Regions from separate parts of the Homo sapiens genome. Here all the other regions are linked to region 1. Evidence: promoter capture Hi-C in 16 types of primary human blood cells and fetal thymus (Javierre and others, 2016). All regions are on one chromosome and are shown on one strand. The core of a region is centred on a gene start or on the middle of the fragment in contact, and the rest is flanking DNA. Distances in the headings are between cores, read along the strand shown. Region 1 holds the start of MCM3 (minichromosome maintenance complex component 3). Region 2 has its middle 42 kb from the start of GCM1. Region 3 overlaps FBXO9 (F-box protein 9). Region 4 overlaps CILK1 (ciliogenesis associated kinase 1). Region 5 has its middle 3.2 kb from the start of RN7SK. Region 6 overlaps GSTA4 (glutathione S-transferase alpha 4).

Region 1 (4,827 bases), core at 1,537-4,036:
AGACTTCAGATATTACACAATTCCTTGCCTTAAAACAGGTATCTTTGATTCCAACCTCCAAGACAGCTCAACTGATTTATCCCCCTTACCTTGGTAGGATAGACAGAGCTGGAGGGAAAGGCCACCAGGGTGGTGAGATCAGAATAACGTCGCTCTATGGTCTTCTTAGTAGCAGGACAGTAGTGGACACTGCGGACGACTTTGGGACGAACTAGAGAACCTAGGGATGGAAAATGTGCATATATAAACTCACCCAACTAGACGATGATACAGGTGGAACCCAAACATATGCAAGCCTATAATGACTCCAAATACTGTGTTTTTTTGACTAGGTTACGATATTTCAATATTACCTTTTATTCACTTTTTTATTTATATATAGACCACCACCATATCCATGTAAAATTTTAAGTACCACCAATCCCAACTAATAAATAGGTGGAGTTAGAGGTTGGAATTAGAGATTGCCAGGAACCAAGACTCCTCCAGCTCTCAGCAGAATTCATCATTCTACTAATACATGTGATTACTCAAGGTCCCCCAATCATTGTACACACTGAGCCCTCCAAGTTTTACCACGTAATTCCAATGCTCCACCTCTTTGAAGCCACAAGCTACCCAGATCTACTTTGCCTCTCCTGCTTTCCCCATCTCCCTGTCTATTCATTTCCTAAGCGGCCCCCTTTAACCCACTTACATTTAGTGACAATGCCCTCCACACAGACCACACAGCTGAGGAAGCAGGAGGTAAGAGTCCGCGGGGAGACGTGCTTGGAGCCAAAGCTGCCTTCCAGTCCTACGTAGAACTCCTCATACTGCTTGGCATAGGTAGCATCAATGGAGGCCACAAAATCCTTTAAGGCCCGCTGGAAGGCAACCAGCTCCTCAAAGGCATTGTTCAGAAGCCTGTACATAAGCAAGAGAAAGAAAAATTAGACTGGGCAGAACTCAAAAAAATGGATCCTCAAAACAGCAGACATTCTTAGATCATTAAAAACAATGAGAAAATCCAGCTTCTGCTTTCTCCTATAAGTCTCAGTAAAACACCATCCTATAAGACTCAGTAAAATACCAGAACTAAGGACCAACTTCACCTCAACTTATCAAAGATATAAAAATGATATTCAGCTAAACATTGGAAGGAGGGGCATTTGGGAGGAAAATGCCAACCACCCACTTTTTGAAAAAAAAAAAAAAAAAAATAGGTGCAGGTGAGCTACGAGGGCTTGTAGATCAATCCTGTTTCATACAAGTCCTCTCCTGAGAGGCTGTTCCAATCTGGCCAAGAGGGAAGGGAGCCATTCTCACTGACAGCCAGTATATCCCCTTGCCTCTCACCGGTTAGCCCTCTTCTCGTTTTTCCTGCGCAGGTCATTCACATTGACAATCAGCCGGTATTGGTTGTCACTGATCAGCTCCCGAACTTTGCTCTGATAAATTCCCTGGTCTTCCTGCAAAACAGCCACCACATATCACCATAGCCACAAATTTAAAAACAATGTTTCTAAACAGAAGTAGTTCTCATAGCCAGATAGCTAAGTCAATCTCTGCAGCAGAGCTGAATCCCCAGTAAGTATGTGCTCATCAATTTCTCCCTTTCATTCACTGTTTTTAGATTCGAAATAACACCCTAAGAGGGGACTATAAGAATTATAATGACTTCCTCAAGGTCCATGCTGTTATTCCCATCATCATGGACAACTTTTCTGCATGCTGTAATTTCTGTCTTTAGTGGAGAATTAAAATGAGCTCATGAGAAGTCTAAATGGACAGTAAGTGCAAACTTTGTTAAAATGTTAAGTTAAACCTAGCAATGTGAATGTTAAAGGTAACAACGTGAATAGATGGATATGTTGTTTCACTGTAGTAATCATTTCACCATGTATATCAAAACATGTGCACTTCAAATATATACAATAAAAATGTAAATAAAACAGACTCTTAATAGTCACATTAAAATGGCTTTTCATTTAAGAATTATGTAAAAAGTAATATTTTTTCCAATCATCTCTATAATACGGAAAGGGTTCTCATACCCCGACCTAAAGGAATAGAGAATCTCAGCTATTTGGTCACATCATCAACCCTTCAAGATGGTTTTTTCAACATTCTATGGCTTTAAGTCTTGGGTTGCACATAAAATCCCCTTGGCCTGCACACAAAACACTTTTTATCTGCATCTTAGTTGGTATTGAAAAAGAATGCAGCCGAATTATGGAGTCTTTTCCTCCAGGTAAAACGTCAGTCCCTAAAATCTGAGCACTCTGCAACGCGGCTGGTCACTATAGCCCTAGGGCAGCCCCTCCCCCACAGTCTCCTCAAATCAAGAGAGAGCAGTGAAATGCAAAAGGCCGAGGTGGGCTTTGCCAATCTGCTTGCACTTAATGGGAACCTGTCGCCTTTTGCGCGCCCGGACCATCGCTTGTACTTAAGAGAAAGCTGGCTTCCTAAGAGTTCACTTATCGAACACAAACTAGCGAGTCCGGCGTTGAGAAGTTACAAGATTGGGGCTGGAGGCTCGGGCCCGGCAGGCTCCGCTGCGGCACACGGTCTGGAGGTCTGGCGGGCCTCTGGCTTCCCGGCCGGGCCGCGTCCGCAGGGGCTCCGAGCGCTAGAGCCCGCGCGCCGGCGCCTCCCTCACCTCGTCGTCCAGGAAGTCCAGGTAATCTCTCTGAGCCTCCCGCAGCTCCACATCGTCCAGCACCACGGTACCCGCCATGCCCGCTGCCAAAGAACTACCTCCACCAAAGTCGCGTGGAGGTTCCCAGGATGACTCCACCCCGGCGCGAAAACTTCCGAACTCTTCCCGCCACCAAAGGTTACCTCGAGGAAGAGGCGGGGACCTTGGGAGCATATAAGCATTATGATTGGCTGAGTTCTCTGAGGTCGGACTAGCGACTGTCCAATCAAAAGCTTCTTCTTCTTCGGGTTTTCCGCTGCGCGCCCCGCGGTGGCGGGAAACGTACCATCCGGGATTCTCTGTTCCTCCCCTCCCTCCGCCTCACTCACTGACGAGCAAACTGACCAATAGGGCTGAGAGGAGGCTCACAGAGGCTGGTCATTGAGCAGCTGGAGGGGACAGGCTGGCGAGAGGGAAAGCATTGCGTTCTGGGAGTTGTAGTGTTCTCCCTCCTTTCCGGATGTTTTTGCAGGGTTTTTCAAGCTGCAGAACTTTTGACCCGATGCAACGACCAAATTCAGAGGATGGTGCTTTATAACGCAGGGAGATGAAAACATAAAAGCAAATCATTTTTAAGATATATCCAAATCAGAACTGCCCTCCAGTGGCATCCTAGTGTAAAAGTGGATTTTGAGAATCTATAGGATAGAATATAGAACTACAGTACCTTAGGGAAAGATTAGTTAAAAACCCATTTGCTATCTGATACCGTTGCCTGACGAACTCCATAAAGACATCGCCGCAGAGAAGGATGAAGTGAAAAAAAAAATCTGTGTTTACCCTGCCCCCTAGAGACTTCATCGTGTGTTATACAAATTTTGGAAACCGTTACTACTCCATCTTACTTAATAACAGGTAAATTAAAGGCTTTCTGGTCTTATAAAAAGATCACAAGATCCTTTTAAGTAACTTAGCTTACTGAACGATCAGCTCAAGAGGGGAAAAAGTGTTTCACGTCACTTTGATTAAATATCAATCAGTAACTAACAGCAAATCTGAAACCATAATGACTAAAAGATCATCGCACGTCCAAATTTGTATGTTTGTTTTCAGTCCGTCGTGGTTGGCTTTTTCTTATATTTCTAGTTTTATTTTGAGATATAATGTATATACAGTAAAATGCACAAATCTTAAGTGTACAGCTCAGTGAATTTTTACCTGTGCTTACACCCATGTAACCACTCTGCACAATAAAGAGCAAGCCCATTGCCCCAGCATGTGTTTTTAATTTTACTGAACAAGAAGCTGAAATACTGGATTGCCCAACATCAGACATTTGATAATTCTTTATCTGAAATTTCAGCCAACTATTAGCTTATGTTTTAAAGTCTTCAGGACTCACTATGTACTGATAAATATTCTAAGAATAATCTGCCTAAACAAAATATATAGGCCATCTATTTGTGTGGGTATATGTATTTCTAGTTATTATTCAGTTTATAGTTACTGTATGTTTTGTGCCATCCTAGTGGGCAGATAAATCGATCCTTAGCCAAAGCAAAAAGGCTGTCATTTGACTGCTTGCTTTTATGTTTATTAACGGGCAAAAAAAAAAGAAAATTCTAGAATAAAGATACTGTTTGCCGTTATATAGCAAGAGGTAATTACTGATTTATTAAGACTTTTTACTCATAACTCTTATTTTATGAACTTATTGGACAGAGTACTGAGATATCCTCTGCTCTGGAAACAATTTGAAATTAACACTAAAAGAACCGGGAAGCTTAGTTCAAACTAGCAAAGAAGTCGAGTCATTTGTAGTAGAAAGTCCAAAAGAGTGGAAATCTGAAAACCACATCTTTGATTCTCACACTTTTTTCTGGGCTTGTTTCCTTATATACAGTATAAGATGAAGAAACTGAATTAGAATATCTCTGATAATCTGTCTTACTCTAACATTCCATGAGCTAATGGCAAATTTGGAAACTATGTAAAGACAATTCTATTTAATGAATTAATCATGCCATGGTCTTTGATAAAGACTTGATTTGTCCCAATATAATCATCTTCAGCTGTGAAGGACACACCGCTATTTAATTGGTGTTTCTCCCTTCTTTCATTAGGGCATGAAATCTTTAAGCAGAGGAAATGTATTTCCTTTGTTATCCCCGACACCTGCAAACTGCCCAAAATCAATCAGGTTGTTG
Region 2 (4,827 bases), core at 1,280-3,779, 910 kb after region 1:
AGCGAGACTCCGTCTAAAAAAAATAAAAAAATAAGCCGGCCGGGCGCCATGACTCACGCCTGTAATCCCAGCATTTTGGGAGGCTGAGGCGGGCTGATCACGAGGTCAGGAGTTGGAGACCAGCCTGGATAACATGGTGAAACCCCTTCTCTACTCAAAATACAAAAATCAGCCGGGCGTGGTGGCAGGCGCCTGTAATCCCAGCTACTCGGGAGGCTGAGGCTGGAGAATCACTTGAACCCGGGAGGCAGAGGTTGCAGTGAGCTGAGATTGCGCCACTGCACTCCAGCCTGGGTGACAGAACAAGACTCTGTCTCAAAAAAAAAAAAAAAAAAAAAAAAAAAGCTAAAGAGAAGCCGGAAGTGCTTCCTCTGAATGAAAAGGTGAAAGTTCTCAGCTTAAAAGAAGAGGAAACCATCGTATTTTGAGGTTGCTAAGATCTGCAGTAAGAAGGAATCTTGTATCCCTGAGATCGTGAAGAAAGAAAAAGAAATTCATGCTAGTTTCGTTGTTGCATCTCAAACTGCAAAGCTCACAACAGTGTGTGATAAGTGCTTAGTTAAGGAAAAAAAAAACATTGAAATGTGTGGGTGGAGGTCATAAACAGAACTGTGTTCCGCTTGATGGCGATCAGGTTCAGTGCTATGGGCAGTTTCAGGCTCTGAACTTATCCCCTGTGGATAAGGGAGCGGGAGGGCTACTGTCATCCCTTTTCAGGAATCAGTTGCAGAAGAGATGTCTCTAGAACTCCTCCCACCAAGGTGAAGCTCCACCAAAAGCACCAAGAACCATAATACTGGTATGTCTGATCTGGTTTTGTTTTTGTTTTTGTTTTAGAGACAGAATCTCACCTGTGACCCAGGCTGGAGTGCAGTAGCTCACTGCAGCCTAAAACTCCTGGGCTCAAGAGACCCTTCCAGATCTCTTGGGACCGTAGGGTCCCAAGTAGGACCACAGGCATGCACCACCACACCCGGCTAATTTTTTATATTTTTTGTAGAGACAGGGTCTTGCTTTTGTTACCCAGGCTGTGATCTGTTTATTAAAATATGTCACTAGAGGTTAGAGCTACATCTCCTACTATTCTGCCTAGTAAGCATAATTAAGTAAAATATTCACTAAGTATAATTAAGTAAGTATTCATTTAGTGAAATAACTGAGTAGGAATCTAAGAACTAGGTTCCAGCCTAATCTATACCCAATGTGTAAGATATTACATGGGATCTGATCCTTAGCAAATGTCTTTATATTGATCCACAGTAGATCAACAGAATATATTTTTTAAAGACCTGTTCAAAGTTTTAGACAACTAGGGCCAGGCGTGGTGGCTCATGCCTGTAATCCCAGCACTTTGGGGGGCCGAGTTGGGTGGATCACAAGGTCAGGAGTTTGAGACCAGCCTGACCAATATGGTGAAACCTCGTCTCTACTAAAAATACAAAAAAAATTAGCCGGGCGTGGTGGCACATGCCGGTAATCCCAGCTACTCAAGAGGCTGAGGCAGGAGAATTGCTTGAACCCAGGAGGCGGAAGTTGCGGTGAGCCGAGATCATGCCACTGCACTCCAGCCTGGGCGACAGAGGGAGACTCCGTCTCAAAAAAAAAAACAACAAAAAAACACAAAACTAGATCATACAAAGTTAAAATATAACTTTCTTGAGAGTCATGATTATATTTAGCAACTTAAATCATTGCCACTGAAAAGCTTGGCTTCAGTTTTAAGCAACTAATCTAAAAGCTATGGCACAGAGCTTGCAAGGTGTGGGCTCTAAAGGGTTACATTACATAGCTAAATCATATAGTTGCTTGGCTGCCTTTATGCTAGACATCAAGTCAGGCAACTGGAATTCAACTCCTGGCAACCCCATTTACTACTTAGCTCTTGGACAAGTCACTTAATCTCCTTGCATTTCATCTGTAAAATAAAAATGATAATACATTCCTGCCTCATTCCACCACTAATGTAGGTGGAATAACATAAGTATGCAATAACTCTAAGACTCTAAGGCTCTGTGAAAATGTTAGTTATTTTTAACGTAAACTACAATAATGGTCAAAATGGCCAATATTGGCCAAAGCCACACAGGATCCTTCCCAATCCCTTGAAATCACCTTCTGATAACATTGTATATTATTATATTTTATATATTTCTAGTAGATGGACACCCACCTTCCACCCTCAAGTACACCCCAGCGCCTGTTGTTCACCACCTAGTGTCCATGTGTTCTTGATGTGTAGCTCTGACTTATAACTGAGAACATGCAGTATTTAATTTTCTGTTCCTGTATTAGTTTGCTTAAAATAACGATCTTGTTCTTTTTTTTTTTTTGAGATGGAGTCTGGCTCCATTGCCCAGGCTGGAGTGCAGTGGCACGATCTCGGCTCACTGCAAGCTCTGCCTCCCAGGTTCACGCCATTCTCCTGCCTTAGCCTCCAGAGTAGCTGGGACTGCAGGCGCCCATCACCACGCCCGGCTAATTTTTTTTTTTGTATTTTTAGTAGAGACGGGGTTTCACTGTGTTAGCCAGGATGGTCTCTATCTCCTGACCTCGTGATCCACCTGCCTCAGCCTCCCAAAGTGCTGGGATTACAGGCGTGAGTCACCGTGCCCAGCCAATCTTGTTCTTTTTTATTGGCTGCATAGTATTCCATGGTATATATGTAACCACATTTTCTATCTTTTTTTTTTTTTTTTGGAGACAGAGTCTCGCTCTGTTGCCCAGGCCTGGGCGACAAGAGTGAAATATGTCTCAAAAAAAAAAAATTAGCCAGGCATGGTGGAACATGCCTGTAGTTGCAGCTACTAGGGAGGCTGAGGCACAAGAATCATCTGAACCCAGAAGGCAGAAGTTGCAGTGAGCCGAGATGGTGCCACTATACTCCAGCCTGGGCAATAGAGCGAGACTCTGTCTCAAAAAAAAAAAAAAAAAAAATAGAAAATGTGATTACATATATACCATGGAATACTATGCAGCCATAAAAAAGAACAAGATCATGTCTTTCACAGCAACATGGATAGAGCCAGGGCCATTATCCTAAGCAAACTAATGCAGGAACAGAATATTAAATACTGCATGTTCTCAGTTATAAGTGGGAGCTACGCACAAGAATACATGGACACTGGGAGGTGAACAACAGGTGCGCTAGGGCATACTTGAGGGTGGAAGGTGGGAGCAGAGAGGGGATCAGAAAAAATACCTATTGGGTACTATGTTCATTGCCTGGGGACAAAATTTTCTGTACACCAAACCCCTGTGACACACAATTTACCTATTTAACAAACCTGCACATGTACCATAAACCTAAAATAAAAGTTAAAAAAATGGGAGAAAGAGAGAGAAAAGAATCTGGTAAAGCTTTCTTTTTCTTTTTTTTTTTTGAGAAGGAGTTTCGCTCGTCGGCCAGGCTGGAGTGCAATGGCACCATCTCAGCTCACTGCAACCTCTGCCTCCTGGGTTCAAGCAATTCTCCCACCTCAGCCTCCTGAGTAGCTGGGATTACAGGCGCCTGCCACCACCATGCCCAGCTAATTTTTTTTTGTATTTTTAGTAGAGACGGGGTTTTGCCATGTTGGCCAGGCTGGTCTCAAACTCCTGCCCTCAGCCTCCCAAAGTGCTGGGATTACAGGCGTGAGCCACTGCACCTGGCCTCTAGGTGTATATACTTCGGTAAATAAATATTGATATTCATATGCATTAAAATCCTTGGAAGAATAAAAAAGAAACTTGTTTTAGGAAGGGAATGCTGGGTAGATGGGGGACAAGTGTAGAAAGAAACTTCACTCTGTAATTTTCTCTTAGTTTTTTTAGACATAGGAATGAATTACACATTCAAACATTTTTAAAAATAAACAATTTGGCTGGGCGCGGTGGCTCACGCCTGTAATCCCAGGATTCTGGGAGGTCGAGGTGGGTGGATCACCTGATGTTAGGAGTTTGAGACCAGCCTGACTAACATGGTGAAACCCTGTCTCTACTAAAAATACAAAAAAAATTAGCCAGGCATGGTGGCGCATGCCTATAACCCCTGCTACTTGGGAGGCTGAGGTAGGAGAATCAGTTGAACCTGGGAGGTGGAGGTTGCAATGAGCCGAGATCGCGCCACTGCACTCCAGCCTGGGCAACAAGAGTGAAACTCCGTCTCAAAAAAAAAAAAAAAAAAAAAAAAAAAAAAAAAAATAATAATAATAATAATTTAAATATGAAATGAAAGTAACTCTCTTCTAAAATTCTTATAGTGTGGTTTCTTGGTGGCCACCAAAACCCTTGTCACAACTAGCTCTGGGAGTTGAAGATGTATAGGAAGATAAGTGGTTTATTTTGCTATTTAATCAACTTTAAGTCTCTAACAAGTATACTTTGATTTAATGAAAATGGCAACTCAGCAAAGGATTTAGGGCTGTAATTCAGGATGAAACAAACAGGTTGTGATGAGGAAACTCCCCTGCCTGAGGGGTGTCCTGAGAGGGTCAGAGGCTCCAGTCTAGTGAGATAGGAAAGGAAATGCATTTGCCAAAACGGAATTTAAATTTTTTTTTAACTCTTATTTTAGATACAGGGGATACATGTAGATTTGTTACATGGGTATATTGTGTGATGCTGAGGATTGGGATACGGATGATCCCATCACCCAAGTAGTGAGCATAATTTTTCAAACCTTGTCCCCTTTCCTGCCTGCATCCAAAATAGAAATTTGAAAATAATTCTCCACACACTGCAGTGGATGTTGGCAAGGGAACACCATTGTTTCCTACTTAACCCTTGCTGGATGTGTTTAAGAGTTCTTACCAGATTGCTGGCAGCAAAAACACTAATGTATTCATTCAT
Region 3 (4,827 bases), core at 1,658-4,157, 800 kb after region 1:
ATACAGTATTCCTTTGCAAGACAGGATAAATTCATCACATTTAAAAATGTATCACATGTTGAATAAGCTTTAGGTGACTTTTTGTAAAGCAAATTTGAAAATGCTATGAAAAATCAGTTTCTAAACTGTACGCTTGTAGACTGAGGCACTTAATTTATTCACCTCCCTTTTTTCAGCATTGAAGATAATGATGATGACAGCAAAATGGCAGATCTCTTGTCCTACTTCCAGCAGCAACTCACATTTCAGGAGTCTGTGCTTAAACTGTGTCAGCCTGAGCTTGAGAGCAGTCAGATTCACATATCAGGTGTGAATACTTGTTTTTCATAACTCAGTGAGAAATATCTTAACCTTAAAGATTTCCAAATTTATAAGGTCAGATAATTTGCCAGATAACTGCTGCTTTAGTTCAGAATATGGTGGAAGATCTAGTTATAATTATCATTTGCATATACTATTAAGCTGTTTTGTGTTTTGTTTTGTCTTGTTTTGTTTTTTGAAATGGAGACGTGCCCTGTCACCCAGGCTGGAGTGCAGTGGTGCAATCTCGGCTCACTGCAACCTCTGCCTCCTGGGTTCAAGCAATTCTGCTGCCTCAGCCTCCCAAGTGGCTGGGATTACAGGCGTGTGCCACCACACCCAGCTAAATTTTTGTATCTTCAGTAAAGACAGAGTTTCACCATGTTGGCCAGGCTGGTCTCGAACTCCTGACTTCATGATCTGCCCACCTTGGCCTCCCAAAGTGCTGGGATTACAGGCCTCTGAGGCACTGCGCCCAGCCCAGTAGTAAGCTGCTTTACAATCTGAAGCAGAACAGTTTGTAGTGCTGTTGTTTAAGGATGCCATACCTTTTTCAGTAAAGATCTAACAGGGTAAGTCTGAGTTGTTGAGGTAGCCCTAAGAAAACTGGAGGAATACTGGTATCATGAAGCATTTCAGCCATGTTGGACAATTGTCCTGAGACAGACTGAATGTTTAGGAATTAATGGATTTTTGTTCGGGCATGGTGGCTCACGCCTGCAATCTCAGCATTTTGGGAGGCTGAGTTGGGAGGATCACTTGAGGCCAGGAGTTCAAGATAAGCCTGGCCAACATGGTGAAACCCCACCTCTACTAAAAATACAAAAATTAGCTGGGCGTCGTGGCGCATGACTGTAGTCCCACCTACTTGGGAGGCTGAGGCACGAGAATTACTTGAACCCAGGAGGCAGAGGCTGCAGTGAGCTGAGATTGTATCACTGCACTCCAGCCTGGGCAACAGAGCAAGAACCTGTCACAAAAAAAAAAGAAATTCATGTATTTTTAATATGTTAAATATTGTTTGGTTCGGGGCTTTTTCAGAGGAGGACAATTAAAAGTTTTCAAGGAGATGAAAATAACTTTAGTGTTAATAGATGCAATATGGATCACACACACATAGATTATTTTCCTAAAACATTTATTTTAATATGTCTGGCAAAATAATCTTATGAGGGAAAAGAGTGCTTTATAAAAAGTAGCTTCAGATCTATACTGAAAAAACAAAGATATTTATGTCTTGATGTTAAGAACCATTATTATTATTGAGTAGCTAAATACATTCATGCTTTAGCTCTGAGCAATACAGAGGGTGTGATTATAAATTTCTAGGAAGGTATAAATGTACTGGGAATGTAGTTGTGACAATAGAATGACATAGAGGAGAGTCACTGAAGGATGATTTTCTTTTGCAGTGCTGCCAATGGAGGTCCTGATGTACATCTTCCGATGGGTGGTGTCTAGTGACTTGGACCTCAGATCATTGGAGCAGTTGTCGCTGGTGTGCAGAGGATTCTACATCTGTGCCAGGTACTAAGTTTTTGTTTTTGTTTTTTAAACAACTGAGGCAATGGTGAAAAGAAAGATGGTCCTTTGCCAATCCTGATAAAATTACTTGATTGGTGTTCTGAGTTAAAGCTTAGAATAAACAAGTTTTGCTAAGCTGTACTTAACTTTCTCAAATAACTTAGAATTTAAAGGCTAGAATATGCTAGGTTTCTAGGGTATAGAATAATATGTAGGACAGATGTAGTAACCCATACTACTACCATAGAGTTTACATGCTAGCTTAACTGATTTGGGAAAAAGAGTTATATTAGAAAAATATATTCAAGTCATTTTTACACTAACTGTAAACTCATTGTGGTAATGGTTTAGATTAAAACAGCACTAGCATTTTCTTATGGCTCATTAAAAGTTATTCTATATTTTGAAAATTTTGCTATGTGTGGGAAAGGACTCTATTCAATAAATGGTGCTGAGATAAGCGGCTAGCCATGTGCAGAAGATGGAAACTGGATCCTTTCCTTACACGACACACAAAAATCAAATCAAGATGGATTAAAGACTTAAATGTAAAACCTAAAACTATATACTTAGTCCTTATATAGAATTTTTAAAAACAACTTGTTCTTAAAATTCAGATGCATTATTTTTAAATTAATTCCATTTGGAATCTTGTAGTTTTCATAAAATATTTGAATTTCTTGAAGACTCTTTTTCACAATTCTGTGTGCTAGTATATTTAACAAGTACCTATTAAACACCTAGTGGATTGCCACTAGAGTCTCTAGCACTGTTATGTCAACCTAAATAATAAGCAGATAGACTCTCTAAAAGACATTTATTTGAGAATAATACATTGCAATGGGAATACACATGCCATAGTAAACTATTCAGGGAAACAAAAGTTTTTAAAGGAAAAAATGAGGATTACATAATTGTTTTGAAATACTTAATCCTTGACTACAAAGATCAGTAACAAGGGGGACGCCAGTCTGAGATTGGACAGACAGTTTCTTGGGCAGATGTCCTTGCAGCAAAAATATTTTTTGTATAAGGCTGTGATGGCCTTTGTGCAGAGCTGTGTTTTTTATAGTCTTTTTTGTTAACCAGTCATAGAAGCCTGAGAACCTTCTCTTCATGGCCTTCCTCAGCTCTCTTTGTCAGGGTTTTCTTAACATTAGTGGCTCCATTTTTATTTTAACAACTTTCACATTTTCCCCTTTTGATCAGTATCTTTCTCTGATCAGTCATCCTGTAGTTAGGTTTTGACATCCCATAGTACCAGCATAGACCAGTCCTGGTTTCTAGTCTCATCCCATGTTGGGGAGAATGATTAGCAACTAGGAGTCCGTGTCAAAATGCTTTTAAGCCACATTTGGGCAAGAAGGGACGTCTGAAGGGAATGACTCTCAGGCTGTGTCTACCTGGATTCCATTATTAAGTTTGATTTTTGTCTATTCCATAGTCTTTGTTACTCAAAATGCTGGGCCAGCGTTATTGTTAGGTGTGGTACTTCTGCAGAAATTTAACAAGTAACAAAGTTAATAGTAATATGACAATTCCAATTTGCATAATGGTTTTGAGCCATGAACCTAGGCTTAAGAACAACTAATTGAGTAGACCAGTGACCACAGGGAATTAGGTGAGACCATGTAATCATGCTACCTGTTTTCTTATTTTGTGTACATGGGTCTCAACTTTATCAGAGGGATTTATCTAGGTACAGCATGTAGTACTAGCAATAGCACAGATATTTTCTTTTTTAACCAATGAATACTAAAGGATTTCTTGGGTTAGGTTCTGTTAAGTTACCAGCAGAAGCTATTGATTATGAAATTTCAATTACACCATTATCCTGTCAAGTGAAAAAAGTAGCATTAAGTGGGGGTAAAAGTCTTATGATATGGTTCTGATGTCATGGGAAAAGCTGTCTACAGCTTTCACAAAAACATCAGATTCTCCTCCTGATTTATGTTTGAATGTCTCTGGTCATGATATTGTTGTGTGGCTCATATATCAGGCATGAGACTTGTTTCTTAAAATTTGAATAGTTTCAGCTTAAAGGGCTTTACGAACAGAAGCTTTTGTTTTTAGTTGGCGTGTTGTAGTCCAATCCTGGAGGAAACTAGGAGAATTCATCAAACAGTCCGGTGTACGTGTGGATAACAACAGGTGTATTGCAGTTTTTTTTTTAAGAAACGTTTTTTTCCTACATTGATCATATAGGAATTTCAGATTTAAAAATCTCTTGAGGCTAGGAAGTCAAAGAGAGGTAGACTTTAGGCTTCACTTAGGGTCTTAAGGTTCTTGGGCCTGCTAGGAAGTGACAGGTTTTACTCACGATAAGGCTGAGAACTCTTAAAGCCGGATGTTTTATGCACATTCTTAAATATGACATTTTCAGTCAAAGCCTTGGTAATATAACTAATGTTTCTAATTGTATCCTCATATAAAGGGATTAGATTTTTATTGAACTTATATAAATAAAAATAATATGAATAGTTTCTGAATTTTGGAGAAATCAAGTAGGGAGAAAAAGCAAATGGTTCCACCTTGGTTCACAAAAGTCTTCTAACGTCATAAAGACATTCTCTTCATCATTTACATCAATTTTATGTAATTTTTTATTATGCTTGATCTTTATTAGCAGTTCAATGAACCCATGAATTTATTAGAGTTCTGGAAATTTTTATTTAGTCCATTGATCTTAAAGTTAGCAAAAATCTTTGTTCAAGAGTACTGCTAGAGTCTTTTCCATAAACAGCAGTTTTGGACTGTAGCTGATTGCAAATGTTTTTAGAGAATTCAAAATAATAATTGTGATGACAAAAACTTAGAATAGCCATGTAAAATCTGATGAAAGTTCTCAGTTGATGAGGGAATTTAGTTATTTCTAGTACATGTAGCATTTTAAGATAACCAGAATCATGACTGACACTGTCACATCAGGACTATCAGACTTTTATATAAATTTCATCTAGTCTTTAGAATACTCACATTAATAACATCTATACAAATATAACT
Region 4 (4,827 bases), core at 1,681-4,180, 770 kb after region 1:
CTTGACAATTCTAGCCTGAAATCTCTGAGTATATGACATTAGCATATGGAGATTCCATGCTGTGTAGACCAGAGATGGCACACTGGCACTCTGGGGGCTGAATCCCAGATTTAAAAATAGGGAATTTCGGCAGGGCACAGTGGCTCACACCTGTAATCCCAACACTTTGGGAGGCCAAGGGCAGCAGATCACAAGGTCAGGAGTTCGAGATCAGCCTGGCCAACATGGTGAAACCCTGTCTCTACTAAAAATACAAAAATTAACCAGGCGTGGTGGTGTATGCCTGTAATCCCAGTTACTCAGAAGGCTGAGGCAGGAGAATTGCTTGAACCCAGGAGGCGGAGGTTGCAGTGAGCAGAGATCGCACCACTGTACTCCACCCTGGGACAGAGTGAGATTCTGTCTCAAAAAAAAAAAAATCAATAAATAAAAAATAGGGAATTTCCTATATAAATCCCTATTTGGAGCTTCTCTGGAAACACTGAAGGTCTAACCACCTGGGGTCCTTAGCCCTTCACGGTAATAAGAAGTGGAAGAAATGTCCGTACCTCTTCAGGCTGGGCGTGTGCTCTGCAGCTCACCACAGTCCCCATTTTTTGCCTGTTGCCACTTGCCATTTTTTTTTTTTAGCTGTCATTTTTTTGTGTGCCTTCATAGCCACTTGTTTTACTGGATGAAAAATATTTCTCTGTTCCTATGCCTATAACAAAAGTGACAAAGTAAAAGCCTGAAAAAAAAAAAAACCTTATACTTAAAGAAAAATTGGAAGAGAAGAAAAATTGTTCTTTTTTAGAAGAGAAGAGCAATTTCTTACTGTTTGACAAGCACACACCCAGCTTCCTTGAGTCTTTTATTTTCCTCCTCTGCCCTGACAGCATTTAAATTCAGCTTCTGGTACAGATAGTTAACACTGCTTGAGAAGTGAATGGAATGTAGCAGCCTGTCCATTACCTTGAGAATTAGCATGTATTTCTAACTCGCAGTATTTCTAAATTCTGCTTTGACTCCAAGAATTAACTTGGATAAATCATTCACTACAACGAATCTACACTTAGCACCCTCATATATCAAATATGCCCAAAACATGATAATTTTAGTACTTAGTATGTGCATAGTACTATTATAAGTGCTTATGCATATATTAGTACATTTAACCCTCATAATTCTACCAGGCAGGTACTATTACAATTATCCCTATTTTACAGAGAAGGAAACTGAGACACAAGTTACATGTCTAGATTATACGACTAATGTGGCAGAAATGAGACAGGAACCCAGGCTGACTGTACCAAACTTAAGGGAAAGCTTTCAAAAGATCATGAAATCTTTGGAGGATCTGAAAATGACAGGAACAGAAGTAGTACTTTGTATCTCAAAGCCCAAATATGAAAATGAATGATATGGCTATGTTCTAATTGTCTTCATTCTGCAATCAAATATCAGCGAATCCTCTGGAGCCATTGGCAGCACCAACATGCCCACAGTGGAGGCAAAGTGAGGGACTGGTTCCAGTTTCCACTCAGCACTGATCTGCTGTGCCTCGGGGCATCTCTTGGTCCTTGAGTTTACTTTTGGTGGAATTAGGGCATGGGACTTGCTCTAAGGTGGTTTCTTCCTCTAAAGCTGTGTGATTCTGTGACTCTGTATCAGGAATTGAGCTAGCATTTGTCTAAGAAAAAAAAAAGGATAAATGTTTCTGCTTTTTGCATCACATGAACAAAGGTTAGCGGAGAAGACAGTGCCACCGAAGGACCCTGTATGCTACACACCTTTCTTTCAAGAGATGCACAAGTGCCCCAGTGCCTCAGCCAGGCCCCAGTAAACATTAAACATCGATTCCTTCTCTTTCGAGCTCACATGTCACCTCTTCCAAGCCTCCTGCCCCAACCTACACATATAGACCCGAGAATGGTCCTCTCCCTTGATGCCATAGTGCCTTGTCCTCACCTCACTGCCAGCCCCTTCCCCGTGGCAATGACCTGCAGGTGTACCCTCTGCTTCAGCCTCGACACTCTCCAAGACTGCTTCATCTTTGTCTTCTCACTCCACTTGCAGTAGCAAGTCCTCAAAGATTGTTTGAAGGGCCCAAATGTGAGTTTTAGTCTTTGCTATTATTTTCTGTACCACCTTGGCTAAGTACCTCAAAATTCTCAGTGCTTCTATTTTGTCATACACAAAACAAAGATAAACTGTTGGGCCCAACTAAAAGTTCTGAAGTTCTGAAGTGGAAGAACAGTGAATACCACAGAATAGCTGGGGCAGGCAGGCAGCCTGGGCCCTCCCACAACAATGCCAAGATGACTGAGTCTCAGAGGATCACAGAAAGTCCCCCTCCATGCGGTCAGATCAGGCCTTTGGCCTTTGGGTAAGGCTGTACTCAACTACCAAAGAAAGACAGCTTTATCTCTCTTTCAAAGAGTTCCAGCAAACCTTTGAAGTCAATGTTATGATGTTCCTGGCTAGGTGACATTGGGGAAAAGCTTCCTGTGATTTGCCCCAATTCCCTCCCCTCAGCGTCAATCCTCGGTGGAGGCAAAGAACATTTGCTCATGGCCAGCAGCTCACATCAGGTGCCTTGCTCATTCACAGCCTAAAAAATGGAGGCGAGGGGCAGGGAAAATTGTAGTTCATTCTTTATTTTGAAACCTTAATCAATGAATTAATGCCATCATTACACATTTTCTAAGACAGGAGACAAAAAGTTACAGCAAACTTGGGGTTCTCTGGGAGTTGTGGTTTACCAGGCCCACTGACACCATTCAGTTCCTTAGAAGGAGCTTGTCTCCCTTTGCATTAATTATCTTACATTGAAAAGATTCTGTTACTTTCATTTATCCTCCTAGGAAAAGTGGATTATATGCAAAATCATTAGATGACCCTTCTCATGGTAATTCTGAGTTCCATTTTACCTTTACAGGTTTATAATTAGACTTCGTATTCTAGGTTTGAATGTGTCCTAACTTTACAAAAGTCAGTGAATACTGTTAATTTCTTTTAAAAAGGTACTAGAAATAGTATATCCGGGTTTATGTTTTTCTCCTGGACCTAATTCTTCTGCCTCTGTACATTTTAGCAAGCAAACCTTTTAAGCATTTTGCCTCTTGGACTACTGCTTTTTTTCTGCATAAGGAATAGCAGTTACAAAGCCAAAAGGACCTTCTTTACATGGATCTTGCTTTGTCTTTACCTTGACAGAGGAGTGAATTAAAGATGCATTCAGCTATTGCATCAACTGGATGTTAACAAGAGAAGATAATCCGTTACATGATGTGCCTTCTTCTGTGCCCCAGAAACTTCTTCATACCTTTACCATCCCTCTCCTCTTTCAATCCCAGCTTCTGAAAAAAGAACTCGTCCTGCACTAGGTCCTTAATCCCATGAGAAGCTTCCATAACTCCCTGTCGCTTCTCTTACAATATAAAAGGTGCTCACGCCTTGAACCTTAAAAAAGTTCTTCAATCACTTGCAGATGATTTTTAAACTAGGACACATAGTTGGCTTTGGTGGACTGTAAAGAACTGAAGTAAAGGCGAAATGTTAAAAAAAATAAAAAATAAAAAAACAGCCAGAAAAACAAACCTTTACCCTGCCATGTGTGAAACTGTAGATGAGCTAGAACGAGAGTCCCCAGCTTAATGAAAACTGCCGAGGGTGGCAATAGTCCTGCTTGCCTGTGTTTCAGGGGTGGGCAAGATAAGGGATAGTGAAGATAGGGGAGTGACTAAGAGCATATCACAAGTTCATGTAGATAGTAACTTTCATGATACTGGCAAATAAGTAGCTGGACGTTACACAATAATACTTTACCTTTCTGGTTCTAACGCATTATCTTTTACGGTAGTTACAAGGACAGCCACATGTTATCAGTATTTATATGCTATTACAACACATTTGACTAAGGAGCTGATCTCAGTGTAAGATGCTTTGCTAGCATGTATACAAAAAATCAAAATGAATTAAAGGAAGTAAAGGCTTAATGTAAAAATAAAATAGGGCAGGGATAAGCACGTTTTTTCTGTGAAGGGTCAGTAAACAGGATAGGCTTTGCAGGCTCTCCATCTCCGTCACAACTCCACTCTGCCATTGTAGCATGAAAGCAGTCAAAGACAATATGTAAATACATGGGCATGGCTGTGTTCCAGTACAAATTTATTTACAAAAACAGGCAGCAGGAAGGACTGGCACACAAGCCATAGTTTGTCAAGCCCTGAAGATGAGGAAATCCCCCAAATAAGCAGAAGCACTTTAGTACTCTCCATAGAGCCCTCACTTACCCCTAGGTTACAGGGCTACATACAAGCTGTGTTTAACCTTAGAATATAAGCTCTGTGAGGTCAGAAACGTTGCAATATTCACAACTGTATTCCCAGTACTCAGTTCCCAGAGAACTGGCATAGTTGGCACAAGTACGGACTCACAATAAAGACATGTTCAATGAATTAACTAATGAATGAACAACTTATGGAGCTTTAAAAGGCAATCCTGACCATAGATGATTTTCCTATACTACCACGTCCACCCTCACTGTCATCCCGTCACGCCCCACTTCTTTGCAAACTGGACAACTGTACTGGGACTAGGGTACCAAAATTATGACTCCTTCTAAAAACTTTTACACTAATTTAGGAAAAAACTTGCTTTTCAACAGCTAAGATCACATGAAGGCATGTATATCTTACATTTTTCTTACTCCCCTTTGTCTTAGTTAAATCATTCTCTAGTAAATTCTCTTTCAAAGCAAAGGCAATGTCCAAGAGGGCAAAACCATTAATAACTATCTTTTGGGAACCACAAGTTCATGCAGATAGTAACTTTCATGATATTGCC
Region 5 (4,827 bases), core at 1,514-4,013, 710 kb after region 1:
GCAGGCAAAGTACCACATACAGATTAAAATCAAAAGCACTGTCAACGCTTATTTAATTTATACAGTAGACCCTAACTTTTCTAATTTTGTGTATACATATATATACATGTATACATGTATACAAACATACATATTTTCTTCTTTCTTTCTTCATCTCAGTGGGACATCTTGAGATTTCTCTTCATTTTGTACATTTTAGAGACAAGTGCTCTATAGTCACGGTCTCAAGTCAGCACCTGTTTGGAAGGGGGTCTTTGGAGTTGGGGGTGGTGCTAAAAGAATAATTTGGCTGGCAAGTTAGTTAAAACATTAAAAATATATTAAAACTATCAGGGCTATATTATGGAACAATTGCAAAATTCACATGGATTTCAAAGTTTGAAATATATGCCTTCGAAAATAAATTTTGTTTTTAGAGGCAGCTTCTGCTATTTCTCAGGCTATAGATGTTGTTATTTTCTTCACCCACGGGGGCGCTCGAGAGTACCTTGCTTGACAAGCCTGGGTGCTGAACAATTGCAGCCGCTAACATGATCAGATTTTATTTTCAATAGGTTTCTCTGGCCAAAGTGAGGCGAATGAATTGGGGTAGTAGGGGTAGAGAAAGAAACCTCTTGTGTCTGTGTAAATTAAAGTAGCACCATGAGTTTGAAGAATATGAGTAAGAAAAGGTGAAATACTAAGGAGGTAGGTGGTAAAGCAATTGCTAATCAGATCAAAGGGAAGGGAGGAGGAAGAAAAGTCTAGAATGATGCCCTGTCCAACACACACACACACACACACACACACACACACACACACACACACACACACACACACTTCTTGTCTTTTTTTTAATAACATGTATTGTCATCTAACAGGACTTTTTTATTTATTTGTCTGTAGATTCCTAGAATGTAAATTCCACGAGATCGAGGATTTTTGCGCTTTTGGTTTTCCTTTTGTACATCCTGGTTAGTATAGAGTAGGTATTCAGAGAACACTTGTTGAATGAATGAATGAGCAATGCTTTGGTTTCTAGTTCCATAAAGAGCGGAGAAGGAAGACAAAGTTTGGGGAAAATGGGTTGACTTGTCTTTTGTTGCTATGAACCATCCAGCTGGAAATACCCACTAGACAGTTGAAAAAGCCATTGAGGGCTGGGCGCAGTGGCTCACGCCTGTAATCCCAGCACTTTGAGAGGCTGAGGCGGGCGGATCACCTGAGGTCAGGAGTTCAAGACCAGCGTGGCCAACATGGTGAAACCCTGTTTCCACTAAAAATACAAAATTAGTCGGGCGTGGTGGCCTGTTCCTGTAGTCCCAGCTATTCAGGAGGCTGAGGCGGGAGAATCGCTTGAACCTGGAAGGCGGAGGTTGCAGTGAGCCGTGATCACGCCCCTGCAGTACAAGCTGGGCGAGAAAGTAAGACTCCCTATAAAAAAAAAACCGAAAAGACAAAAACCAACCCAGTGAGGACTCAGTAGAGAGAACTGAAATCGGTTGAATTGGTGGCAAAAGAATGAGCTCATCCAGAGAAGGTATGCAGGGTAAGAAGAGAGGTAAGTCAAGGACCACTGGGCACCCCAAAAGTCAGAAAAGTCGTTTTCAAAAAAGACTTAACAGTGTATATCCAATCATATTTCTAGTTCTGATTTAACAGCAATTACTCAGTTTAACATGAGTAGGAAGCCATATTTTCCAGCCTTGCTGAAAGTGGTCATTCTTTTTTTCTTGCTTTTAGTTTATAATTAAGGAAGGTTTATTGAACATCTGTGCTGAGGTCTACTGGATTTACTGAGACATAAAAAATAAATTATAAAATCCAGTTCTTGCCCTCAAGGAGCTTATTTTTTAATTGACAAATAAAATTGTATATTTTTACTGTGTACAACATGATATTTTAAAGTACAGTCATCCCTCAGTATCTGTGGGGGATTGGTTTCAGAACCCCCTCAGCTACCAAAATCAGACCATGCTCCAGTCCCTTATATAAAACGGTGTAGTATTTGCATGTAACTTAACACACATCCTTTGGTTTACTTTAAATCATCTCTAGATTTTTTATGTTAACCTAAATAACAAACAGAAAGAGGCTCTTTAAAAATATTTATTTGGAAATTGAATTTTGCAATAGGAATATGCATGCCATAGTAAATTATGTGTGTATTCAGGGAGGTAAAATAAAACAAAGATTTTTAAAGGACAAAAATGACGATGGCATAATTGTTTTAAAATAAGTATCCTTTGCTGCAAAGATGAATAACAAGGGCAATAATCCCAGTATTTTTTTGTGTAAGACTGCAATGGCCATTGTGGAAGGTTGTGGTTCTTATAGTCTTTTGTGATCGTGTGTTGTTGTTGTTGTTGTTGTTGTTGTTGTTTGTTTGTCTTTTGGAGACAGGGTCTTGCTGTATTGCCCAGGCTGGAATGCAATGGTGCGATCAGGGCTCACTACAGCTTCGAGGCTCAAGTGATCCTCCCACCTCAGCCTCCTGAGTAGCTGAGACTACAGGCGCATGACACTACTGGCTAATTTTTAGTTTTTGTAGAGAAGGGGTCTAACTATGCTGCCCAGGCTGGTCTCAAACTCCTAGGCTCAAGTGATCCTCCCACCTCTGCCTCTTAAAGTGCTGTGATTACAGGCATGTACCTCTGCACCTGGCTTTTGTGATTGCTTTTATTAGACATTTAAGCCAAGCACTTGTCTCCATTTGCTTAGTTCCAACTGGTTGAATTATACCAAATTGCTAATATCTTACTGTTTTTAACCTTCAAAAATGGCAGTTTCAGATGTCCAATCTTATAAAATAGAGGCAACATCATCCTAGAGTTAGGGAAACAGGAGTGTAGGAGAGCCAGGGTGACAGCATTTTAAAATCAACTCCATCTTACAATGAGAACACATAGACACAGGGAGGGGAACAACACACACCAGGGCCAGTCGGGGGGTGGGGGAGTGAGGGGAGGGGGAGCATTAGGACAAATATCTAATACATACCGGGCTTAAAACCTAGATGATGGGTTAATAGGTGCAGCAAACCACCATGGCACACTACACCATGGCACAACTACACGTTGTGCGCTTGTATTCTGGAACTTAAACTAGATTAAAAAACAAAAAAATCAGCTCCATCTTAAGATGTCTACAGCTGAGGAAATAGCTTAATAATACCTGGAAGGACAAATTCCTATGACAGTAGAATGTCCAGATGTTCCAATATTGCATAATGCTAAACACCTTTAAGGTAATTATAGTCATGCTTTCACGTATTTACGCATGAAAATGCCAAGGATACCTTTCTTTAAATTAACAAAGTACTAATTTTTTTCATTCTGTTAGCCCACTCGCACGTAGACATTGCTTAGCTTACCTTTTACAGAGATAAGACCCCTATCGAATAAAAACAAAGAAGAGGCATTCCTCCTCTTGCTTTCTGAGAATGCTCTACTCTGTAACTGAGTAGCTTTCAATAAAATGTTACTTCTCATGGCACTGGGTGACTCGCCTTACATTCCTTCCTGTGCGAGATCCAAGAACCCTCTTTTAGGATCTGGATCAGGACACCTTTTTTGGGTAACACTCAGCCTTGTTCACCTGAAAGTGTAACTAAGGTAGCAGCATGACTGCTATTACACAGGCTTGGGGAGAAATGAAAACTCCTGTTATAATAGTTCTGGCACTCTATGACAGGTACCCCAAAGGCATTTTATTCCTTTGAAGCCCCTGACATCATCAACCTACTTGTTCTTGAAGACCCTTAGAGTTGCCCTCATCCTGAGACAGTCTTACTCATTTTATCTATCTATTCTACCTACCTACCTACCCACCTACCTACCTGATACATTTTCAGAGGCCCTGAGAAGTCTTCTTAGCCTCAACCCTTCACTCATCTGCTCAGTAGTAGGTAAAATTGCTTGCACAGAAGTCAAGAGCTTCAAATCTCAGTTTAAGAGCTTTGTATACTCCCAGAAGAGGGAAACATTTGACTTAAATTCAGCCTTAGCTATAAGCGATTGGTGTAAGACCCTATTCTAACAAGTGGGTTTTCTTATCAGGAAAGATGGTTGAGAGCTTGAAATGGCTTCTTCAGGGTTTCTGAAGGGGCAACATGGGCCCAACGTGATGCCAAAAAGACAAATGCCCATGACTACACAGTAAAGTCACTGTTCTGATGGCGAGAGGCACACTTAGGGATTCACCAATGCAAGTTTGATTGGTAGATCATGTTCCTAGAAAATCCTGTCAAGGAGTCAAAGAATGTTTAGAAAATGAATTTCCTGTGACATTCTTTATGTAGTTCATGAAGTTATGAACTTCTTTTGAAGGTTTATATTGTATATGAGAATGTGCTGTGAAAAGCTAAAAGACATACAAGGCAGGTTAAAATGATGAAATCAGGAACAAGAAACTGTTTCCACCTGCTTTTGCTTTTTTTTTTTTTTTTTTTTTTTTTTTGAGACAGGGCCTCACTCTGTTGCCCAGGCTGGGGTGGAGGGGGGTGATCTGGGCTCACTATAACCTCTGTCTCCTGGGCTCAAGTGATTCCCCTGCCTCAGCCCCCCAAGTAACTGGGACCACAGGTGCACACCACCACATCCGGCTAAATTTTGTAATTTTGGTAGAGACAGGTCTTGCCATGTTGCCCAGGCTGGTCTCGAACTCCTAGGTTCCAGGGATCCTCACGCCTCCACCTCCCAGAGTGCCGGGATTACAGGTATGAGCCACCACTCCCAGACGCCTAACTTTCTAAAAGCTGAACTTTAACAAAACCTCCACATTGCAGGATAACTCTTCATTCTGCTGCTCTAAGTGCATGCATCTAATTTCATAGCAGTAGCACGATAG
Region 6 (4,827 bases), core at 1,473-3,972, 700 kb after region 1:
TGAGGTGTGTGTCTATGTGTACACAAGCATGTATATATATGCATGCCTGGAAAGATTTCACTTTGTTTTTTTTTTTGAGACACAGTTTTGCTCTGTCACCCAGGCTGCAGTGCAGTGGCATGATCTCGGCTCACTGCAACCTCCACCTCCCCAGTTCAAGTGATTCTCCTGCCTCAGCCTCCGAGTAGCTGGGATTACAGGCACATGCCACCATGCTCAGCTAATTGTTTTATTTTTAGTAGAGATGGGGTTTCACCATGTTGGCCAGACTGGTCTTGAACTCCTGACCTTAAGTGATCCACCCACTTCAGCCACCCAAAGTGCTGGGATTACAGGTGTGAGCCACTGCGCCCGGCCTAGATTTCACCTTTAATAAGCTTAGCATTCTACCTACTTCTGGGTTCAGCATCCCACCTATTTGGGGCCAAAGGTACTTCTAGTACTTCTAAATGTGTTTCTCAGAAACCACACAGTCTAGTGGAAAGAGTACAGACTTAGATCCCTGACTCCCCTGTGGCTCCCAACTCAGTCATCCACAGTCTTGCAACTATGCAGAATGTAATGTTTCCAAGCTGGTAATTTTCATCTGTAAAATGGAGATAGTGAAGCCCATCTCCTAGGGTTATTGGGGTGGGGTTGACGGGACAGATGAGCAAATGCATGTAAGTGCCTAGCAGACTGACTGGAATGAAGCTGGCACTCAACAAGTTGCAGATCCCTTCCTCTAATTTCCCTTCTCTGCTAAACAAGTAACTTTTTTAACAGTGCAAAAGAATACTTCAGGTGAAAAGTATCCTAAGTTCTGAATGAATAAAATCAAATTAAGGAAAGTCAATCTCTGTGTCTGCAAAAGTAAATGAAAAAAAAATTGAAAAAAAAATATAAACTATAACATAAATGATATGGTGGTTTATTGCCTTGTTGAAGATTTTTATTCTCATTTTCTGGGTGTACTTATTGAACTGGTGGTAATTGCTCTCATTAGTATATCAAAATATTTAATAGACTTGGCAAAAAATTGTTTTAAGTATGTGTGTTACTCTTTGGAGAGTTAGTGTATCTCTCTTGGCTTTTGATAACTTGGTCAAACATATAGCAATTTGGTCTGTATCCAGGCTGTTTCAGGGATTGGCAAGCTTTTTCCATAAAGGACCAGTCAGCAAATATTTTAAGTTCTGCAGGCCATATGGTCTCTATCAGATCTACTCAACTCTGCTGTAGAAAAACAAAAGTAACCTTGACATTGTGTAAATGAGTGGGCATGGCTTTGTACCAATGAAATTTATGAATACTAGAATTTGAATTTCATATAATTTTTATGTGTCATGAAATATTATTCCACAGATTTTTTTCAACCATTTAAAAATGTAAAAATTATTCTTAACTCACAAGCTGTATAAAAACAGGTGGCAGGCCAGGTTTGGCCCAGGAGTTACAGTCTGCACATTAGACTTGGAGATAAAAGGCTAAGGTTCTAGATAAAACTCAAGCATCCACTGCCTAAGCCAGCTTGGCTGCTGATTTCTTTATTCTGGGTCTCTACTTCCTCAAGTGAATATTGAAGTCATTAAATGAGTTTTTTTTTAAAGGCCCTTCTCTCCTTTAAAGTTCTATGATCAATCCTGCCAGAATAACCCTGAGGGATAATTTGAACCACACAAGTCTTTCCTTGGAATTCTCAGAAGGAGAATGGTAGGAATCCTTTGGGGTGATGTTTAGGGTGCTAACATCTCTCATTTGCTCTCAGAGCTCAGGCTTAGAATTTCCTAACTTGAGACCATACTATTTCTGAGAAAGGGAGTCATAGCCTGATGAATGAGACTGTTTTGATGTTTATCTCGCCCACTATTCCATCAGTAGATACATGTGAGTGTGAGACCACCTCATCTCTATGGTTATTTCTATGGAAAGTCCCCTGAGGCAAACTCCCTGTGCATGGAGTTTTTTCCAGGAGTGCAGTTATGGAACAAAATTAAGATGAAAATTTCTGAGCTGGGTGTGCTGGCACATGCCTATAGTCCCTGCTACTCAGGAGACTGAGGTGGGAGGATCTCTTGAGCCCAGGAGTTCAAGACCATTCTGGGCAACATAGTAAGATCCCACCTTAAAAAAAAAAAATTTTACACTTCAATGATCTTTCAACTTGAAGGATTTAAGGACCAGAAAAATAACTTTGGGTCCTTACTTTCATTTCATTTGCCAAACTAGAATCTTAAAAATATTACACATACACACACACACACACTCCCCAAAGCCAACCAAACAATAGACACTGAAGGAAGGCCCAAGAGTTCTAGGCCAATCTTCTAATACATAGTTTTATTTACCTGGAGGAAAGGAAATGCAGACAGGATATTAGGAATTTTCTCTTCTAGAGCTAAAATGGTTTGGAGTAAAATCACATCTGCAAGGCTCAGCTGATTACCAACAAGAAAGCTTTGTCCGTGACCCCTTAAAATCTGTAGGGAAATGGTGTGCATCAGTTACAATATTCCACATGGAGAGAGTGATGAGGCTATTGAATCAGTGCAGTATCTGAGAAGAGGTGAAACTATGACCTTGTCATTTCATGCTTTCATAAATAACATCAATTAAGAGAACGCACCCTATATCTGACAGAGAGAGTGAGAGAGAGGGGGAGAGAGAGAGAGAGAGAGCGAGAGAGAGAGAGAGAAAGTACAAAAAAGGTGTGGAAATGAAAGCATCCTTAAATATCTGCTGTGGATCTGAATGAGACATTGAAGTGGGGAAGGGAAAATTCCTTATTTCTGGATTTAGCATCTGGTGTTTTGAAAGGATATATCTACTCCAAAAATGTATCTACAGAAATGCATGCAGGAGGCTTGGGGAGGGGCAGGGTGATTTAAGAAATCTAAGTGATAGATCATCTTCAAGGGGCCCACTCTTATTTCCCAGTTCTGCTGCTAGAACATCAAGAGGTGTAGTCATAAACTCAACCCAATTATAAAATTAGACTTCCTCTTACATGTCCCAAAACAGAGAAAATGAAAAGCTTGAGTTCATCTTGACTCCCATTCTGAGGGTAACGTATAGGTGTGGGGCTTATAAGAATAGATTGTGATTAGGGAGAGGCAAGAAGCAGTAGTAGCAAAGGGGAGATCCCCTTCACAGTCAACTCTTGGATGCCCATGGGTGTCTGCATGTGCACAAGTGTGTGTGTCACAGGGACTCCGAACACAATTCCAGGTCAAATATAGCTACTGGAGCCAGAGTGGCATAGTACAATGCATCCTGAATTTGTAGTCAGAGGCCAGAGTTCCAACCCTGCTCTCCATTTTCTGGCCATGTTACCTTGGACAGGTCACTGAATCTCTTCATGACTTCATTTCATTATGTGTAAAAGGGACAACGGTTCTCACCTCATAGGCGTGTTGCAAGAAACCCTGACACAGTCTGGGCCCTTGGGACCTAAGAATGAGCAGTGAACCTTTGCCAAAGCACCAGGTCCTCTGTGCCCGTTCCAGACCACATTTCTTCATTATCCTATTTTACATTCACAAAGTGCCTGTGGGAAAGATACCATAAAACCTAGCTACAGAAACCCCAGAAAATACCTCTCCTTTTTCCTAAATCTAGTTCCATAAAGATGGTCAGAGGAAGCTTGCCAAATAGGTCTTCCCATATTTTCACACCCTCTTCTTTAGTGTTTGCATTGAAACACTAAAAAAGTTCCTCCCAGTTCAGGAATAAAGAATTTGAAGCTCAGAAAAGCAGATATAACAAGAAGAGAAAAACAACAAAACCAAAAACAAAAAGAGCAAAGGGAAGATAAATAAAATGGAAATGGTTCTTCTACTCATATCGAATTATCAGGGAGGATGTCAGCTGAGACAGCTGTTCGACAACTTTTGTTGAATGAATGAATGAGGTAGTTTTTGTTTTCTGTATCTTCTGAAGTTTCTGCTGTATCCACACAAGGTGGGAACTTGGTGAATGCAAGGAACAATAAGGAACAAAGGCAGGGAGCCCATACTTTTTCTAGACTTCTGAATCATGTGGTCCTAGCAGAGTCCAAGGGGCTCTAAGACACCAGCTTTGTGCTGTGGCTACTATTCGCTCTTAGGAGTCCATTAGCGCTTAGGTTAGTTCAACTGGGCTCAGTTTTAAAATCCTTGGACAGAAAAGGGTGTTTGTGGCAGCTTCTTTGTGGTTTGTGGTTTGGTTGCTCTGTGTATGTAGGCATCTCTGCCACCTACCTTTTCAAACACAGGAAAGTATCTAATTATAGCCTTCTGGGCCATGTTAACCACTTCCTTTTGCTGATCATCTGGTTTTAAGAAAGGATGCATGATAAGCAGTTCCAGCAGATCCAGTGTCCCCTCCACGTACATGTCAATCCTTAAAACAAAAAAGCAGTTGTCTCAGTTTCTCCTCTCTTTGAAGCCATCAGTTTCCACAACTAAGAATTCAGAGTGCTTTTTTTTTTTTTTTTAAAGATGCTGCAACTTAAGTCCCTAGAAGCATTTACCTATACCTGTCTCTTAAGAGCAAAGATATAAGGTCAATTCTAGTTGTAACTCAGAAAAATCTGTCACAGATCAGACAGCTTGACAGTCATGAGTGCTCTCTCTCCTGGCATCCTACTCCTCCACTTTTACCCCAGCATCCATGTTTTGGTCTCTTCGTATGGGTCAAACTTCAACTTTATAAAAATAGTGAATACCACTTATTGAGTGCTTAGAGTGTACCAGGCATGGTGCTAAACACTCTCTATCCATTATCTCATTAAATCACATGACACTATGAGAAATGTACTATTCTTATACCCACGTTGCCCAGGGTCATACATCTAAGGGGTGCAAGGAC

The links. The method cuts DNA at HindIII sites, captures the fragments that hold promoters and counts their contacts. A CHiCAGO score of 5 or more calls a contact.
Region 2: a fragment that was not itself captured here is called in contact with the fragment with the promoter of MCM3 in region 1 in 1 of 17 cell types (naive CD4 T cells); the score reaches 5.3 in naive CD4 T cells.
Region 3: a contact is called between a fragment that was not itself captured here and the fragment with the promoter of MCM3 in region 1, in 1 of 17 cell types (erythroblasts). The highest score is 6.2, in erythroblasts.
Region 4: a contact is called between a fragment that was not itself captured here and the fragment with the promoter of MCM3 in region 1, in 8 of 17 cell types (total CD8 T cells, activated CD4 T cells, non-activated CD4 T cells and 5 more). The highest score is 8.2, in total CD8 T cells.
Region 5: a fragment that was not itself captured here is called in contact with the fragment with the promoter of MCM3 in region 1 in 4 of 17 cell types (naive CD8 T cells, naive CD4 T cells, total CD8 T cells and 1 more); the score reaches 6.1 in naive CD8 T cells.
Region 6: a fragment that was not itself captured here is called in contact with the fragment with the promoter of MCM3 in region 1 in 1 of 17 cell types (total CD8 T cells); the score reaches 5.4 in total CD8 T cells.

What each region holds. Positions count from the first base shown.
Region 1 is chr6:52,281,956-52,286,782 of GRCh38, forward strand. It overlaps MCM3 (minichromosome maintenance complex component 3), which reads right to left and starts at 2,787. Exons shown (of 17, transcript NM_002388.6): 1 at 2,642-2,787; 2 at 1,339-1,451; 3 at 698-906; 4 at 90-220. The coding sequence starts at 2,719. RefSeq lists enhancers at 2,665-2,744, 3,065-3,264. The HindIII fragment of the contact is 4,216 bases long and covers 1-2,911 here.
Region 2 is chr6:53,187,947-53,192,773 of GRCh38, forward strand. No RefSeq gene overlaps it. Among named protein-coding and RNA genes, the nearest start is that of GCM1, 42 kb to the left of the region's middle. The HindIII fragment of the contact is 1,652 bases long and covers 1,704-3,355 here.
Region 3 is chr6:53,080,792-53,085,618 of GRCh38, forward strand. It overlaps FBXO9 (F-box protein 9), which reads left to right. Exons shown (of 13, transcript NM_033480.3): 6 at 177-307; 7 at 1,713-1,827. Among named protein-coding and RNA genes, the nearest start is that of FBXO9, 18 kb to the left of the region's middle. The HindIII fragment of the contact is 1,949 bases long and covers 1,934-3,882 here.
Region 4 is chr6:53,052,323-53,057,149 of GRCh38, forward strand. All of the region lies in intron 1 of CILK1 (ciliogenesis associated kinase 1), which reads right to left. Among named protein-coding and RNA genes, the nearest start is that of CILK1, 7.1 kb to the right of the region's middle. The HindIII fragment of the contact is 905 bases long and covers 2,479-3,383 here.
Region 5 is chr6:52,996,358-53,001,184 of GRCh38, forward strand. No RefSeq gene overlaps it. Among named protein-coding and RNA genes, the nearest start is that of RN7SK, 3.2 kb to the left of the region's middle. The HindIII fragment of the contact is 6,462 bases long and covers 1-4,827 here.
Region 6 is chr6:52,980,247-52,985,073 of GRCh38, forward strand. GSTA4 (glutathione S-transferase alpha 4) reads right to left here. Exons shown (of 7, transcript NM_001512.4): 5 at 4,218-4,359; 6 at 2,328-2,459. Among named protein-coding and RNA genes, the nearest start is that of GSTA4, 13 kb to the right of the region's middle. The HindIII fragment of the contact is 577 bases long and covers 2,435-3,011 here.